3 separate regions of the Homo sapiens genome follow, and all the other regions are linked to region 3. Evidence: promoter capture Hi-C in human tissues and cell types (Jung and others, 2019). All regions are on one chromosome and are shown on one strand. The core of a region is centred on a gene start or on the middle of the fragment in contact, and the rest is flanking DNA. Distances in the headings are between cores, read along the strand shown.

Region 1 (2,700 bases), core at 175-2,674, 34 kb after region 3:
AGCAATCTGATTTCAGATGTTGCATCAAATAACAAGCTGAACACTTCACGCTGTATTTATAGACCTTCTAAGAGACTAAATTATGCATAATTTATTGTAACTTTGAGATTGCCACTCATTATGTAGTGTTAGCAGCAAATACTTACTGTGGGACACATATAAGTATCAAAATAAAATTAGAGAAGTTCGGAGACTGTGTCTTTTAAGGCCGAGAACTTCATCAGCTCTTTTAGTATTTTCTACCATTCAAGAATTAAAGCACAATCCATTAACTTAGCAAGTAACGGTGATAAAAATACTCTTATGATAATTCCTTCTACAGTTTTTCACTGCAAAGATTGTTGTTTCTCCATGTGAACTTAACAAATACTCTAGCAAGCTTGAAAGCATGAGGCTTTTTCTTGTTTTCCTCTCCCATTTTTGGGGTCTGCTTTCTCCAGATGCCTCTGTTATGGACTTCAGCTGAAAGCAGCAGTGCAGATCTGGGTTGTATTATGAGCACATGCATAGCATTAGATCCCTTGAGCCACACCACCAATAGCAGACCAGTTCACTGGCCTGGGTCATTCCTTCCAGCTGAAGCAATGTGGGAACAAGGCCTCTCTGACAGCCCTAGGCTACCCACAACCAGGAATACCACTGGGGATGAAGAAACAGAGAGAGTGCATCAGATTACGGCTATGCAAATTGCCTAATATTAATGTGGTTTTCCTTGCTCATAAGAAGGCATGGTCCAGGTGTGGTGGCTCACGCCTATAATCCCAGCACTTTGGGAGGCTGACACAGGCGGATCACCTGAGGTCAGGAGTTTGAGACCAGCCTGGCCAAACAACATAGTGAAACCCTGTCTCTACTAAAAATACAAAAGTTAGGCATGGGAGCTGTTTCGCTGTTTCGCTGTTTCGCTGTTTCTCAGAGGGAACTTTCGGTCACTTCAGAGTTTGGTGCCAGGAATGCAGAGACCAAAGAAAGGTAGAGAAAACTTGAGGTTTTAAATATATGGGATAGATGTGAGGTGGAGAATGGGGTTTCAGGAAAGAATTGCTAGTGGAGGTGCCAGAAATGCAATTTCTAAAATCCCAAAGAAAACAGGAGTGTTTCAAGTACTCTCTAGAGAAAGGCAGTGTGGATAAGCGTTGGAGTCCACATCTGCTCCCCCGTCCCCTCAGATTTGAAATTCTAGGTCACAGTTAACCTCCTTACATGCTCTATCTTCCAAGTGAAATTTACGTTCACAGGTGGGGCACTCATGACAGCGGGCATAGATCGGCGAGCACCCCAGTGAAGCTGAAACCAGGATTTTTTCTTTTTCTCTTTGATTTTTTTTTTTGTTATAGTTTATGGCTAGTAAGAATCATGTGGGTCTGGATATTGATATTTCCTGATTCAATTACATTGGGTTTGTTTGGGAAATCATAGTTAACAAGTAATTGATGCTTACATTGTAAAGTGCTGAAGCAGTGATCACATTTAATTTGTGTTTTATAATTTTTCATGAGTGTGAGGCTTGTACTCATATTCTTATGCCACATGCTGAATGTCTGGCATTTAGGACAAGTGAACACATGAAATATTTGGGGGTCAGAGAAAGTCAATTTTGTAAGTGCTGAAGGCTTTCCTGCAATGGAACACTGGAGGAGGCCTGTTTTTAGCATTGTAGCCTATTGTTGTGATAGCCACTGTTTCCCAGACATGGGACATTATTCTGCTCCCTATTAGGAGTTTTAAGATAAGAAAATTCTTGGTCAAACAAACTTGAGAAAAGCAGTCTTGAGCAGATTTACCCATCTTTATCTTCCTGTGAGGCTTCTCAGTTTTTAATCTGTGAATATTCACATTTAAACCCCAAGAGGGAACTATGCAGTGCAGTACTTCTCTGATGTTTTTGGTTATGGAATACTTTAATTTTGCATACTGGTGGAGTTTAGGACATGCTACCCCAACATATGACACCTTGGCATTTGAAAAAATAGCACAAGCAGAAAGGCCATTCTCATCTTCCTCTCGTCCTTCTCCCCTGAAGCAGATCATACCTTCCCTCTATCTGGAGAAAAGGAACATCCTTAGCCTTGAAAATACAGAGATACCGAGAAGAATCTGAACAGGCAGGCCTTGCTAAGTTCCCCTGATTTTATTATCATTAGATCTTACCCTCTTTGTCCAATCATACTTCTACACAATTGTCTACTCTTCATCAAACCCTACCATGGAAACATGCACGTTTTCTGTTTCTTTGGGTCTTTATTTTTGAAGGCTCCCTATGTCACATGAATTTAAATTTGTAAACTTTTCTCTTGTTAATCTGTGTTTTTTTTACGGGGGCCTCAGCCATGAGCCTTGCAATGGGTGAGGAAAAGATACTACTTTTTCTCTGGTACAATACCAGTTAACAACTTTCAGATAGTTTATTAGGAAAGCAGTCTGGGGACTACCAAGCTATGAAAAGGGCCTTGGCCACTGATTCCTGATTAGTTCAGACACTGGACCTTTGGACAAAAGCATCAGAGTAAAAAAGTACATTTACCTGGCTTTGGGCCCTGTGCTTGTATCCCTTGGGCATTTTTGTTATGGAAAGGGGCTAGGGAGGATAAAGCTTGGTTGGATGGAGGAAAGGGAAAGGAAGGAAAGGTAAGGTAATGGTAGGACAAGATACAGGCATTCAGAAATCTTGCATCCTGACCAAATACTTTTTTAGTTCCA
Region 2 (3,007 bases), core at 24-2,523, 51 kb after region 3:
TTTCACTGCTCTGATTCAAACTCTCATTATAACTCACTTGGACTATTGCAATAGGTTTCTAGCTAATCTCGTTGCTTTGGGAGGAATCATCTATTCCAGGTGTTGGCAAACAATATGGCTTATGGGCCAAATCCCGTCTGTATCAGCCTTTGATGTAATCCATTCTCCACTCTGCAGTCAGAGTAATATTTCAAAGACTCAAATCTCGTTATGTTAATCCTACTTAAAATCTTGCAATAACTTCTCATCATCCACAGAATAAAATTCAGATACTTCTATACCAAATATAATTCACAGGGCTGTTATTCATTTGTCCCCTGCCTGCTTTTCTAGTCTCATATTCTGCCATTTCTCTGCTTGCTTAGTATATCCTATTATGACAAAGTACTTGCAGTGTACCAGATGTGTGGTATTTTTCCTCAAGTTCTTGCTTCTGGCAAACAGTCATTTTTCAAGATTATGCACAACTGTTGACACTTAAGTAGACTCTCTAGATCTCTCCAAGCAGAAGGAAACACTTCCTTCCTGTGAATTTTTTCATTTCTTCTTCTTATCCTTATCACTGATAGTACTTATTTAAATTTATTGTTATTTTAAATGACTTCTCTGTTTTTCCTTAGAGATTATAAGCCTTTGGAGGCTCTGAATGGTGTCTTATTTATTCTAATATCCCTTGTACCTCCCATACTGTCTCGCATGCAATAAACCCTTATGAAACATCTGCTGAATAAATGAATAAAGAAACTTTAGCTGAGTCTTTCTTAAATAAACTTTCATGTGATCTGTAGAAAAGTAAACTTTTTGCCATGATAACTCCAAAATGCTACAAATTACTCTTATGCTAAAATTTGCTGAGAAAAATAAAAGAGAAAAACAACACTTCCCCATAAAGTTATATAATGGAAGAACAAAAATCAACTTTTTAAAATCAGAGAAATGAAATATTTTTTACTATGAGAAAAGCAAGGAAATGGTTTTGTTGACTGTAAATTAGAAATATACTATTATGTGGATCAAATCATATTATTAAAAGTTGAATTGATTAAAATACTCAATTTGGCTTCATGACGTAAAATGACTGGTGTTTCATTTTCTAACTGCTTTGCCAGGTTTTACAGACTGAACTGACAGTACAAAACAATGTTAGGACTTCACATAGGAAATGTGAAGGTAGAATTAAAGGCTCTGAATCCAGATGAACAACAGATGTAATGAATACAGCTAATCAGAGCACATAAAGCAACATCACACAGTAAATAACACACAAAAAGCCAGATGATATAATGTTAAGTGAAAAAAGCAGAAAGTGAAAATATGTATTTACTCAGACTTTCAGAAATGGCAGAGTTATTTAACCAGAATAACCTTCGCACAGATAACTATTATATATGATATATTTACACCTCTCTCCACACCCTAACCACCCATTTGAAAGTACTGGAGACCAACAAAACACTCAGATACCAGAGAGAGTCTACCTTTGAAAGACAGGAATTGCAACAGTGAGATTTGTGAGTATGCACCTTTTTGCCTGAGGGTACATCCTGTAGGGACCAAGAGCTTGGTCCTCTGAAAGTTCACTGAAAAATCAACTTGGCAAAGGCAGATTAATTGGAGAAAAGGCATACAAATGTATTTAATGAGTATACACAGGAGCCTTCAGAATGAAGACCCAAAGATATAGAGGAAACTGTCCATTTCAATGCTTAGGTTCAATAAATTATAAACAGCCATGTAGAAATATGGTTGGACAAAAATATAATAGTAATAGACTGAGTGGGGAAGCCCAGCATGGCCTGTCTGTCTGGATTCTTGGCCTCTCCGAGCAGTATTCCTTCCTTTTGGGTGTGGGGCAGGACCCTCTTTGGAATAGGGGGTCTTATGACCTACAGGCAAACAACGTAGGTCAGATTAATTTCTTTATGGCTAGTTCTTACACAGAATATTTTAGGTGTTATGGTTGGCTTTGGGGTGAAGGGGTTCTTCTGGTTTCTATGACTGTCTTGGGGAATACGGTTTCTAGTTTCTGTGGCTGGCCTCCGGGAAGAACGGGACTGAGAGATACAAGGGTAGGAGGGGTCAAAGAAAAACCTTTGCCTGTGAGTCTGCTTCTGTGGCCTTCATTTTGGAGTGTTGTTTTCTGAGGCCCCATAGTACCAAACTTCATGGGCTCTGGGTAACAGAAAGTTGCAGTTTTACTGGCTTGAGGTAAAAGAGGAAGTGAGTTCTAGATTGGCAGAGAAGCTGGAAGGATTGAGGAGGAAATTCCTGGAAAGGAGGAAGCTGCGGAAGGAGGGAACTTCAAAATTTGTGTATAAATTCCACCCAAACCCCCACTTGACTACTATATATGCCCAAGAGACTCCAGTGTCCTGGTGAAAATCAGCAGCTGGAATATGAAAGAATTGGGCAGAAATTTTAGCTGCTGCCCACTACTAGAGAAATAGAGTTCAGATTGTGAGATTAGCCAAGTTAACTACCTGCTAGGACAAAAATCAGCGCTCTTAAGAAGAATATAAATTCCAGAGTCTCTATAATATAGCTTTTGTAATGTCTAGAATACGATAAAAAACTAGGTATGCAAACTTGTGGGAAAATGTGATCTATAGGAGAAAATGCAATTATTAAGATCTAGTCACCAGATGATTCAGATGCTACAATTAAAACGTAAATATTTAAAAGCTGCTATTATAAATGCATTAAAAAAACTTAAAGGAAAAATAACAAATTAACTGAAAATTTTGGCAGAGAACAAGAAACTAAAAAAAGAGCCAAAAAATTATAGAAATGAAAAATACATTAATTAAATTTAAAAATTAAATGGGTGAGATTAAAAGTAGATTAGAGATGGCAGAAAACAACAGTCAGTAAACTTGAGGGTGGATCAATACAAGTTATTAATCTGAAGAGTAGACAAAAAGAAGAAAAGAATGAAGGAAAATGAATAGTGTCTCAGAGGCAAACGGGACAATATCAAGGGGTCTCATATATGTGTAAACTGATCTCC
Region 3 (2,837 bases), core at 79-2,578:
ATTCTTCCTGGCTAACACTTAAAAGTTCAATAGCAGGAAGAATGGGGGTGCTGGAATAGCCAGCACTGGATGAAGGAATGTTTTTATTCTGATTATTATGAAGTCCTACTTTTAAAAATATATTTATACATTTAAATGGTACAATATCCTGGTGTTAAAACCTTAAAAGGAACTTAAAATATCTTTTCGTATTAAGCTACACAAAACTGACGATTTTTAATAAAGATGTAAAACTTGTACACATTTAAAGTTCCCATTTATAGTTTACATTTATGGCACACTTTTAAACCATTCCAGAAGGCATGACTTTACTACTGGGTTAGACAGAGTTCCATATTTCAGATAGTTCATCATTAAAAATTAAAAAAAAAAAAGCCCAAAACAATAAAACCCAAAGAAACAGATGCTCAAAGCATTAGTGGATTACTTCCAAAAAGACTCCATAATAACCCAGTTGGCCAATGAATGAGGGAGGCGAAAAGGCAGGGCGGTGGAACTAAACCTTATCCCTATTGTTTGCAAACTAAGACCCTAGTTAATCACCACCGCTGTTACCACAGCCGGTTTAAATAGGAGTCTCGGATTTTTGCGGTACATGAAAAATGTCAACCGTGAAAGAAAAATATCCGGGTTTTAAATACAAAGGACACTCGAATTTCAGTTTAAATCCCACTCAGGCATTTCAAAGACTGTCACTTCCCTGCAGTCCAGAGTTAATCAAGGTTGCCCGGGTATCTCTCTCAGGAGGAACGCGGAGCCACGTAGAGCATCTTTTCATTCTAAACCCGCCCCAACCTTCCATCTTTCATTAAAAGAGATTTGTTTAAACGTGGCAACGCCTTCACAGTGAGATTTAACTACTGTTAAAATTTCAGCATTCGAGCCGAATTGGTGGAAATAATAAACTACGGGTTTAAAAAAAGCCACGGAGGATGCGTATAAACAAGGTTTACTCGCGGGGGACCGGCAGGGCCTCCGAATCCTCAACACTGAGAGCTGGCTGGCGTGCGCAACCGTCGAGAGCGCTGGTCCAGCAAACGCCCCCAGTGCCCCGAATTCCCTTAGTCTCCAGGCCGGGCCCCAGCACCAGACGTCCCCAAAAGCACTGCGAGGCCCCGGCTGCGACGTCCGGCCTCCTGACACCCTCTCCCACCCCACGGTCCTGCTTCTCTCTCTGGAACGTTCTGCGTCTTCCCGTTCCCCATTTACTCACCAAGGAGAGCTGGGCAGAAGTTCCAGAGCCTCAGTGCCACTTTTCCCGGCCCGCTGTACGTCGGGGCACGCCGACCGCGAGCAGCCACATTCAACGGCCCACAGGATTCAAATTCGTCCACTTCCGCTCGCAAACCCGGAAAGAGCGGTCGGCCCCGCCCTCGAGGGGTGGGACCCGCGGAGGCGCTGGCTGTGGGGAAGGGCCCGTGTGCTCCCGCCCTTCTGGCGCTCCTGCGCTGCTGCTCGGTGCTAACCTGGCTGTGTCGCCTTCGCTTGTTTGTTTTGTCGGGTCTCTCTCCCTATTTAGGAGCTCAGAAAAACTCCGGGCGCGGGGTCATTGTTTCCGCCTATTTGCTCTTGAGGGGATCCTCTTTTTTCCAAAATGGACAGAGATGTGCTGAAGTTTCGTCACCTTCGAGGAATGGGGCGAATGAAAGCACGAACGGAGGCAGGAGGGTTTTATCTTTCCCTTCATCCTCGAGGAAACAGCAGCAGCAGCAAGAAGGAAAAAAACAAACCCTCCAAGTACTTAGTGCAGCCTTTCCTGGGCCTCTCAGTCCTATCCCGGCACAGTCAGGGCTTTTAATTTATTTCTGTCCTGGGTTTAGGGAAAACAAAAAGCCAAGTTCACCCGTATTCAGCCAAAAGTTGAAAATAAGTGGTCGGACCAATTCCTGGTCTCAAATAAACTATTTGATGGTGTTAGAAGGCAATAAATTTTATTTCCCCCCTCAGATAAGGGCTCACTTTACGAGATTATTAAGTATTGTCCCGTGAGATTATTGAAACAACAGTATCTTTTCCTTTATCGAGGACCACAGTATGTCTTTGATCCAAAACGTCTTAAGCTTCTGAAGAGACATCTGGGAGCTTCCAGAAACTAAAGGAAGGACTGGAAATGCTAGGGGGTGAGGGGCGCTAAATAACTCTGACCTTTATGGCTGTGATTGATGTTGCCACCAGATCATCCTCACATCTAATAACATTGAATTACCTAAACGGATCAGTACAAACCAAACCATGACAGCATACCTTTAGCCTTTGTCAAAAATACAGTTTGAGGGCCGGGCGCGGTGGCTCACGCCTGTAATCCCAGCACTTTGGTAGGCCGAGGCGGGTGGATCACGAGGTCAGGAGATCGAGACCATCCTGGCTAACATGGTGAAACCCCGTCTCTACTAAATGTACAAAAAATTAGCTGGGCGTGATGGCAGGCGCCTGTAGTCCCAGCTACTCGGGAGGCTGAGGCAGGAGAATGGTGTGAACCCGGGAGACGGAGCTTGCAGTGAGCAGAAATTGCGCCACTGCACTCCAGCCTGGGCGACAGAGCGAGGCTCTGTCTCAAAAAAAAAAAAAAAAAAAAAAAAAAAATACAGTTTGAAAGGTTTACTAGATTTCTGAGAACCTATGCTACAGGTAATCTGACACAGGGGGTGTGTAAAGCTATTAACTGATGTACTGTTTTTAACAGTGGAAGATAGAAAATAATCTGTGTCTACAAATAAGGAAGGGGTTAAATACATGTAAGTTATGATACTTTAGCATCTGATATACTGACGCTGCGGGCACTAAAAGTAATGAAGTAGATCAGCGGGTACTGAAATGAAATACTGAAAAAGTTTAAG

The links. The method cuts DNA at HindIII sites, captures the fragments that hold promoters and counts their contacts. A contact is called where the count stands out against the background at its distance.
Region 1: a fragment that was not itself captured here is called in contact with the fragment with the promoter of G2E3 in region 3 in 1 of the 25 tissues and cell types used here (liver).
Region 2: a fragment that was not itself captured here is called in contact with the fragment with the promoter of G2E3 in region 3 in 2 of the 25 tissues and cell types used here (dorsolateral prefrontal cortex and mesendoderm cells).

Annotation. Positions count from the first base shown.
Region 1 is chr14:30,523,895-30,526,594 of GRCh38, reverse strand. The region is part of intron 3 of G2E3-AS1 (G2E3 antisense RNA 1); the gene reads left to right. Among named protein-coding and RNA genes, the nearest start is that of G2E3, 34 kb to the left of the region's middle. The HindIII fragment of the contact is 4,279 bases long and covers 1-2,700 here.
Region 2 is chr14:30,506,633-30,509,639 of GRCh38, reverse strand. The region is part of intron 3 of G2E3-AS1 (G2E3 antisense RNA 1); the gene reads left to right. The region is part of intron 1 of LOC105370432 (a long non-coding RNA gene); the gene reads right to left. Among named protein-coding and RNA genes, the nearest start is that of G2E3, 51 kb to the left of the region's middle. The HindIII fragment of the contact is 6,876 bases long and covers 1-3,007 here.
Region 3 is chr14:30,557,649-30,560,485 of GRCh38, reverse strand. It overlaps G2E3 (G2/M-phase specific E3 ubiquitin protein ligase), which reads right to left and starts at 1,328. Exons shown (of 15, transcript NM_017769.5): 1 at 1,214-1,328. The region is part of intron 3 of G2E3-AS1 (G2E3 antisense RNA 1); the gene reads left to right. RefSeq lists an enhancer at 1,473-1,662. The HindIII fragment of the contact is 13,115 bases long and covers 1-2,837 here.